Linked DNA regions of Homo sapiens: regions 1 and 2 are each linked to region 3. The links are contacts of gene promoters, found by promoter capture Hi-C in blood cells and fetal thymus (Javierre and others, 2016). All regions are on one chromosome and are shown on one strand. The core of a region is centred on a gene start or on the middle of the fragment in contact, and the rest is flanking DNA. Distances in the headings are between cores, read along the strand shown.

The links. The method cuts DNA at HindIII sites, captures the fragments that hold promoters and counts their contacts. A CHiCAGO score of 5 or more calls a contact.
Region 1: a contact is called between a fragment that was not itself captured here and the fragment with the promoter of EPHB2 in region 3, in 4 of 17 cell types (M1 macrophages, M0 macrophages, endothelial precursors and 1 more). The highest score is 7.2, in M1 macrophages.
Region 2: a fragment that was not itself captured here is called in contact with the fragment with the promoter of EPHB2 in region 3 in 1 of 17 cell types (endothelial precursors); the score reaches 6.0 in endothelial precursors.

Annotation. Positions count from the first base shown.
Region 1 is chr1:22,843,148-22,845,847 of GRCh38, forward strand. The region is part of intron 3 of EPHB2 (EPH receptor B2); the gene reads left to right. Among named protein-coding and RNA genes, the nearest start is that of MIR4253, 19 kb to the right of the region's middle. The HindIII fragment of the contact is 6,267 bases long and covers 1-2,700 here.
Region 2 is chr1:22,922,431-22,925,130 of GRCh38, forward strand. No RefSeq gene overlaps it. Among named protein-coding and RNA genes, the nearest start is that of LACTBL1, 49 kb to the right of the region's middle. RefSeq lists an enhancer at 2,310-2,700. The HindIII fragment of the contact is 9,052 bases long and covers 1-2,700 here.
Region 3 is chr1:22,709,468-22,712,167 of GRCh38, forward strand. It overlaps EPHB2 (EPH receptor B2), which reads left to right and starts at 1,372. Exons shown (of 16, transcript NM_017449.5): 1 at 1,372-1,576. The coding sequence starts at 1,516. RefSeq lists a silencer at 59-344 and an enhancer at 2,566-2,665. The HindIII fragment of the contact is 2,980 bases long and covers 1-2,650 here.

The DNA of each region.
Region 1 (2,700 bases), core at 6-2,505, 130 kb after region 3:
GCAAGTACATGGCACCATCCAACTGTAACCTCATTTTGTCCTCACAGTATAAAACCTTGCAAGGGAGTGTCCCCATTTTACACCTGAGGAAACTGAGGCTCTGGGGGTTCAAGCAACTTTCCCAAGACCATGCAGAAAGCAAGAAGCAGAGACCCAGGTCTGTCTAATTCTAAGTCCTTGCTCTTGCCACTGTGTTTTTTTTCTCCTAACTTTTATTTTAGGAGTACATGTGAAGATTTGTCATATAGATAAATTGCATGTCATGGGGATTTGGTGTACAGATTATTTCATCACCCCGGTGATAAGCATAGTACCCAATAGGTAGTTTTTCGATCCTCTCTCTCCTCCCACCCTCCACCCTCAAGTAGGCCCCAGTGTCTTTTGTTCCCTTCTTCTTTTTCTTTTTTTCTGGAGACTTAGTCTCACTCTGTTGCCCAAGCTGGAGTGCAGTGGTGCAATCTCAGCTCACTGCAACCTGTACCTCGCAGATTCAAGTGATTCTTCTGTCTCAGCCTCCCGAGTAGCTGGGATTACAGCCACCTGCCGCTATGCCTGGCTAATTTTTGTATTTTTAATAGAGACAGGGTTTTACCATGTTGGCCAGGCTGCTCTCGAACTCCTGACCTCAAGTGATCTGCCCACCTCAGTTTCCCAAAGTGCTGGGATTACAGGCGTGGGCCACCGTACCCAGCCTCTTGTTCCCTTCTTTGTGTCCATGTGTATTCAATGTTTAGCTTCCGCTTATAAGTGAGAACATGTGGTATTTGGTTTTGTGTTCCTATGTTAGTTCACTTAGGATAATGGCCTCCAGCTCCATCCACGCTGTTGCAAAGGCTTTTTTATGGCTGTGTAGTATTCCATGGTGTATATGTACCACCTTTTCTTTATTCATTCTACTGTTCATGGACATTTAGGTTGATCCCATGGCTTTGCTGTTGTGAATAATGCTGCAGTGAACATACATGTGCATGTGTCTCTGTGGTAGAACAATTTATATTCCTTTGAGCATCTACCTAATATTCGGATTGTTGGGTCAAATGGTACATCTGTTTTAAGCTCTTTGAGAAATTTCCACACTGCTTTCCACAATGGCTGAGCTAACGTACATTGCCACACTGTTATTAAAACAGGCTTATTGCCCTTGTTTAACACATAAGAAGACAGAGACTCAGAGAGGTATATGCTCATGTGCCCAAAAGCCTCAGCCAGGAAGAGCAGGGCTGGGATTGGAACCCAGAGTGCTGCTGCTGTCTCTGCAGGGGCAGGGGCTGGCAGGAGACCCAGGCAGCTGAGAGGCTGGCCCAGCCAGGCAGCTGTCTATAGTGAGAGGGGTCTTAGGGGTAGGCAGGAGCCTGTCCAGTTTGACAGCAGGGTCTAAGTGCTTCATGAGTATTAGCTGTCTTCTCAACAACCTTAGGAGGGAGAGTGTTATTATCCCCATTTTGCAGGTGGAAAAACTGAGGCACAGAAAAGTTATATTATTTACCCAAGGTCACTCAGCTAGGAAGTGGTGATGCCGGCTCCAGAGCACACACTGCTAACCACAGCACAGCACTGTTTCTCTGAGGAGACGAAGCTGGGCCAGGCACCGGATCCCCCAGGAAGCCCCCAAGAAGGAAGCCTATAGCCTGGGGCCAGCATCCTTGGGACCTTGACTGATCCCAGTCCTTTGGGGTCCTTGGTCAGATCAAGAGGGCATTAGGTCCTGCCTGCAGCTGAAGGCCTTTGGCAGCTCCATACCCTGCAAGGTACTCGGGCCCTGGAACCAGGCAGCAGGAGTAGACCCTGGCTCTGCCCACACCCGGATTTGTGTGCTCCTGGCCAGGCCACTTGAATGCTCAGAGCCTCAGTTTCCTCAGCTATAAAACAGGGCCAGGAGTTCATCAGGATGTTGCGATGAGAGCAGAGGAGGTGACGATGATGAGTTAGGCTCCATCCAGCGTGGAGTCCCACCTCCTGAGTGGTGAGCGAGCAGTGGCTGAAAGCACATGGTGTCCAGCTCAATTTAGATCCCTCCTCTACCACTCACTGCATCAGTGACATTGGACAAGCGACTTACCTCTCTGTGCCTGTATCCCTTGTAAGTGGGGATAATTATAGTATAATTTGAGATTACATGATTAATCCATATAACGCACTTAAAACAGCATCTGCCCCACGGTAAGCACTAAGTGTGAACCGTCATTTAATAGAAGATAAATGTTAAAACATTAGTTCTGGCCGCTTTTGGAACTAAAGAGACCCTTCTAAGCAGAGTTCCCATGAGGTCAGAGAAAATAAGCTAGGAAGTTGTGGTCTCAAGCCCTCACTTGGTGACAGTGTGGGCTATCTTTGCAGGCTGCCCTTCACCACAAGTTGCCTCCCGACTCCTCATCTCCAGTTTTCTCGAGGATTAGTCCTTGTCTGTGGGTGCTAGAGCTAAGTGCTTGTCAAGTTTATGAACTTTCAGAGCCATTTTTAGAAACAACCAGGACTCCTCATTTTTATAAGGGCTGAGATAAGAATGGTCTGTAAGATTAGAGGTTTGTCATTTTCCTCTGCTTTGATTCTCTCTCTCTCTTTACACACACACACCCACACACACACGTACACAGACAGCACAGCAGCCCCAGGCCCTATAAACACATTGTTCAAATAAAGGAGACATTTAGGGGAAGTCTGAAGCACCATTTAAAGGTGATTGCTCTAAATGGCCATGTC
Region 2 (2,700 bases), core at 182-2,681, 210 kb after region 3:
TGGGGACACAGATCCAAACCATATCACTTGCCTCATGCTAGACACTCAATACATATTTGTCAAGTAGATATCAGAGACATTCAGTGAGGGTTCCATGGTCAAATACATTTGGCAAATTCTGGGGTAAGGCAAGTTAATCAGATTTCTTTGTCCCAGGATATTGCAGAGTCTTAAATATGGTAAAAGTGCAATGTGAATCTCTAAGAAGGTGTTACCATTTGCAGGCTTTCCCTCTGGGAGAGCATCTCATGGGACCAGTGTCCCTGGGAACACACTTGGGTAATGCTCTGGGAGTTGCAGGTTGATCTGGAGCTAGGGGTTAAAGTTAGGCCTGGAAAACACCATGGCATAGAGCCCAGAAAGGGATGGGAACCAGGAGGCTGTCCTCTGATTCACCATAATTGTAAGTTTCCTGAGGCCTTCCCAGGGGCCAAGCAGATGCCAGAACCATGCTTCCTGTACAGCCTTGCAGAATTGTGAGCTATGAGTGAATCATAACTCACTCATTCATTCATTCATTCATTCAAGAAGTACTTACTGAATTCCTACTGCACAAAAGTACTGCATTAGATGCCGTGGGGGAAACAAATGACTCCTGCCCCCAAGAGCTTATCAGGGCATTTGGGCCACTTCACTGCCCATGAATCAGGCACCCATGGAAAGCCAAGCACTAGGCTGGTGCTGGGAGCGCTGCAGTGAATGAGACCCATGCCTGCCCTCGTGGAAGTGCTCAGTCAGTGGAAGAGACCAGCAGGTACATGGGTCACTACAACGCAGGTGATGTGCATGGCATTCAAGGTGTCGACAGCTTCCGGGAAGGGAGCAACTAACCCTGAAGGACACCCCTTTGAGGAGCTGAGCAGGGTTCCAGAGCATGACTGGGAGCTCTCCAGGAAGCTGAGAGAGGATGGAGATGAGTATTCCAGGTCGAGGGAATGGCAGATGCAAAGGTATGAAGTCAAACACTGACGTAATATCTTTTGTGAATTTCTACGTGCTATGGTCTGAATGTCCGCAAAAATTCCTGTGTTGAGACATAATCACAAATGCAATAGTATTTAGTGGGGACCTTTAGGAGGTGATTGAACCATGAGGGCAGAGCCCTGGTGAAGGGGATTGAGGCCCTCTGAAAAGAGGCTTCACATCTTGGTCAGCTTGCTTGTTCTGCTCTTCTGCCACATGAGGACACAGAGTTTGTCCCCTTTGGCCCTTCCATCCCTTCCACCAAGTGAAGACACAGAGAAGGCACCGTCTATAAGGAGCAGGCCCTCATCAGACACTGAGCCTGTTGGTGCCTTGATCTTGGACTTCCCAGCCTCCAGAACTGTGAGAAATCAATTTCTGCTGTTTACAAGTTACCCGGTCTTGGGTATTTTGTCATAGCAGCAGAAACAGACTAAGACACTATGTAAGTAACACTGGCACAGAAGTGATTGCTAGATCAAACGTAATATATGACCCCTTATGGCTGTTCATAAAGCAGGCTGGCAATGCCACCAGATCCCTTAAGGAGGACAGTCTGTGACAGCTCATGGTGAGGTCAGCTGGTTCAGGCACCACACACAGGCACACAGCACGGGTGGCTCAGCTTGCAAATTCCAGGCCTTCCTTAGGTGTCCTGGGGCCTCTGACCCATCACCCAAGATGACTTCTGTCTCCCAGCCTGGTTCCTCTGAGAAGCCTGGATCCCCTTTCTATTTCCACCTGCCCCAGTTCCTGGACCAAACTGGGCTTTCCTTAGACTCTCCTTCCCATTCTGAGATCCAGTACAATCTCACAGGGGTCTACTCCCTGCTCAGGGACCCTGACCCAGGTCCCCAACTCCCAGCTCTCTCATCTAACCCTTATTGGCTCCTCTCAACCTTCTTCTCACCCTTCTCTCTCACCCCTGGGACAGCTGAGACCAATCTTTGCCCCTCCAGGCTCCAAATGGGCATCCACAAGTTCAGTCATTTCTCAGACACAGGGGCATCATGGCTGCCACAACAAAATGTCATCAAGGAGAAAAAGAGAAACAAGGGAGGGGCTGTTTCCCATAGTGTCTCACTGGGTTTGGAGTCATGGCTATGGAGACCCCACCCCCACCCCCATGGGACTATAGAAATGCTCTGCCCCTCCCCACCGCCCCGCCCCCCTCCACTCCTCCACCAAACCCATCAGATCAAAGTGTCTGCCTGGATCAGCCCTGCCCCAGAAACCCTGATGACACAGTGCAGGGGACCCTGGAGCCACCAGCACCCCCTACCCTCTACCAATCACACTTGCTGCGAGCACCTCCTTCCTTGCTGCCCCTGTGGATGGCACAAAGGTAAAACCAAGACTCTATTGCTACAAGCCAGGCACGGTGGCTCACGCCTGTAATCCCAGCGCTTTGGGAGGTTGAGGCGGGTGGATATCTTGAGGTCAGGAGTTTGAGACCTGCGTGGCCAACATGGTAAAACGCTGTCTCTACTAAAAATACAAAAATTAGCCAGGTGTGGTGGTGGGCGCCTGTAATCCCAGCTACTTGAGAGGCTGAGGCAGGAGAATCGCTTGAACCCGGGAGGCAGAGGTTGCAGTGAGCCGAGATCACACCACTGCACTCCAGCCTGGGCAACAGAGAGACACTCCATCTCAAAAAAAAAAAAAAAAAAAAAAAAAAAAAAAAAAGACTCTATTGCTACAGCACTGTCCCTGGTGATGGTGAGTCCCCAGGCAGCA
Region 3 (2,700 bases), core at 122-2,621:
CAACTGGACTCTTGGAGCTTCAAGAGACGACCCAACTTTCCAAACCTTAGATGGATTCCCAAAGCCTGTGGTACCCCATTTTCTTGGTATGGACTGAAGGGGAGGGATTGCTGGGACATTTTGATAGTATGTGGGACAAAGGGACACAGGAGATGTGGGTAGCATAGACTTAAACTGCCTTCGACTTAAACCACCTGCTCCTGCACTGGGCTCCTCCACTCACTCCACAGAGTTCCGAGCTCCTGATGAAGTCTCCTCAGTCAGGAGTGGGCTCCCAACTGCCAGGGGTTCAGCCTGGGTGATTGCCGCAGGCCCCCTGCAGCCGCCCACCATCCAGACTTCAGTAAAGTCTGTTAATGATGATGGTGATGAAGGCTGTCAGAGCAGGGCAGGGCCCACAGGGTTGGGGCTAGGGTTGTGTTCTCCCTGAAGGGACGGCCATGCACAAAACCACGGCTGCACAGACAGGTCCATTCCACAGCGTGGGGGTGGCTGGGGCTTTCCCCAGATTCACCCATGGACTTCCTTCACCCCATCCCCAAACTGCACTGGGAGCAAGATCAACAGAGAAGGAGAAATCTAATACAGACATAGACGAGTCTGCAGTGAGGGGCTCGCGGGCCAGCTCAGAACAACGGGGCAGGGAGGGGAGGCCTGGGGTCTGCCTGCAAGGGCCCAGCCCACCAGTGCCGAGTGACCACCCTCCCCCCAGCCCCACCCCAGGCCCTCGGGTAGCGCCAAGGCCCAGTCTCCCACTCGGAGGCCCCGGCCCAGCCCCGGTGCCTGGGAAAGCCGCCTGTTTTGTTCCCAGATGCCACCCCCCCACACACACCCTTTTTTTTTTTTTTCCATTCATTGCAGTTCGGTCCCTTTCGAAGCCGCAGGGACCCGGGTGGCAGGGCTGAGGCGAGGGGGTGGGACTCCCTGCCCTGACAGGTAGTGCCGGCCCCCGCTTTGGGAAGCCCCTTCCCCCGCCCTCCCCTCCGTCCGCTCTCCCTGCCCCTGTCAGCCGCGCCAGACGCTCTCCGGCTTTGCAGCATTCAATAAAAATTGAGAAACATTTGGGCTGAAATCGCTGCTTTATCTGGAGGAGCCACAGCGCCGGGAGAGACCACTGCTGCGCGGGGGGAGCCCGGGGTCTCAGTGGCCCGGGCACGCGGGGTCGCCGCGCTCCAGCGCCCGCGCTGCCCCCGGGTGACCCTACGGGCGCGGTGTGGGGACCCGGGCTCGCGGCGGCGCGCGGCCGCCGGGGGCCGGGACGCGCGCGGGGGGCGGTGGCCTGGCGAGGCTCCCCCCGCGCCCGCGGCTCAGGTGGGCCGTGCCCAGCGCTGGCGGAGCCCGGGTCCCCGTTCTGCCCGGGCTGGATGGCTCATTCTGCTGGCTGCGCGGTGGCGGCGGCTGTGTGTGCGCCGCGCCTTGCCGCCCCCCCTGGCCCCCCGAGCCCGGGGCGCGCGCTCCCGCCCGGGCCGTCCGGGCCCCGCGGCGCCGCGGCCCGAGGCCCCGGGAAGCGCAGCCATGGCTCTGCGGAGGCTGGGGGCCGCGCTGCTGCTGCTGCCGCTGCTCGCCGCCGTGGAAGGTGAGCGAGCGGGCGGGCGGGCGGGCGATGGGGGCGGGGAGCGGCCGGGCACGGGCGGCCGCCGGCGCCCACCTCCGCTCCGCGGCCCGCAAAGTTTGCCCGGGGGCCGGCGCCGGGCGCAGGTGGCCGCGGGGAGGTGTGTCCGGCCGCGCCGGGAGGAGCGGGCCCCGCGGGCGCCCGGGGAGCGGCGGGCGCTGATTGACTGTGCCAGGAGGAGGCGAAGGGACCATCTTGCCGAGGCTTTGTAGCCAGCCCGGCGAGCGCCGCCCAGGGCTGGGGGCTGCCCACGCGCGCTCGCCGCCCCCGGCTCGGGCAGCCGCCTCGCGCCGGCCTGGTCTTGCTCCGCACAGGGTGGAGGGGCGCGGGCCCGGCCGTGGCGGGGGGCGGGGGGGGCGCCGGCGCTCGGTCGGGGCTGGAAAGTTTGGCAGGGAGCAGAGGGAGGGAGGCACCGCGGCCGGCCGGGGTGGGGGCTCCCGGCCCGCGCCCCCGAGATGGGGCCCGGCGCCCCGGAGAGCAGGGACTGGCAGAGTGGAAGGGAGCGCGCCAGCCCCCGCGTCGGTGCCTGCCCATCGCCCGCGGCGTACAATGGGGTCCCCTCCCCGAGAGGACTGCGCGGGGGATGGGTCTGTGGGCATCTCTCCGCCGCGCAAGGTCTCCGGGCACCCCCGCCGGCCACCGCCCCGCGGCCGCGGCGCTCAGCGTGGCGGCTGGAGCCCCGGGAACTCTCCAGCTGCCGCCGGGGCCGGACCAGATGCTCTTGCCATGTGTTGGCCTTGGCCAGGGTCGCGGGCCCTCTCCCCGTGGCCTCGTGTATTGGTACCACTCGACCCCCAGGGGGGCAAGGGTAGTTGCTAGGTCTCCCGAGCCAGCTTGCTCTGGAGGGAAAGTTAGTGCGGTCTGGGTGTGTCCACCAGGAATGGCCGAGCTTGCAGGGCAAGAAGCGAACGTGAATAATGGTTCTCACGTGTACTGCACTTTACAGTTTTCAAACCACTTTACAGTTTATGAAGTACTTCGCACTATACGCAGCTCTCTGTGGTTTACAACGTGCTGCACAGTTGACAAGGTACTTTAAGCTTTACAAAGTGCTTTCCCGCCCACCAGCGTGTTGGATCCCTCAAAAT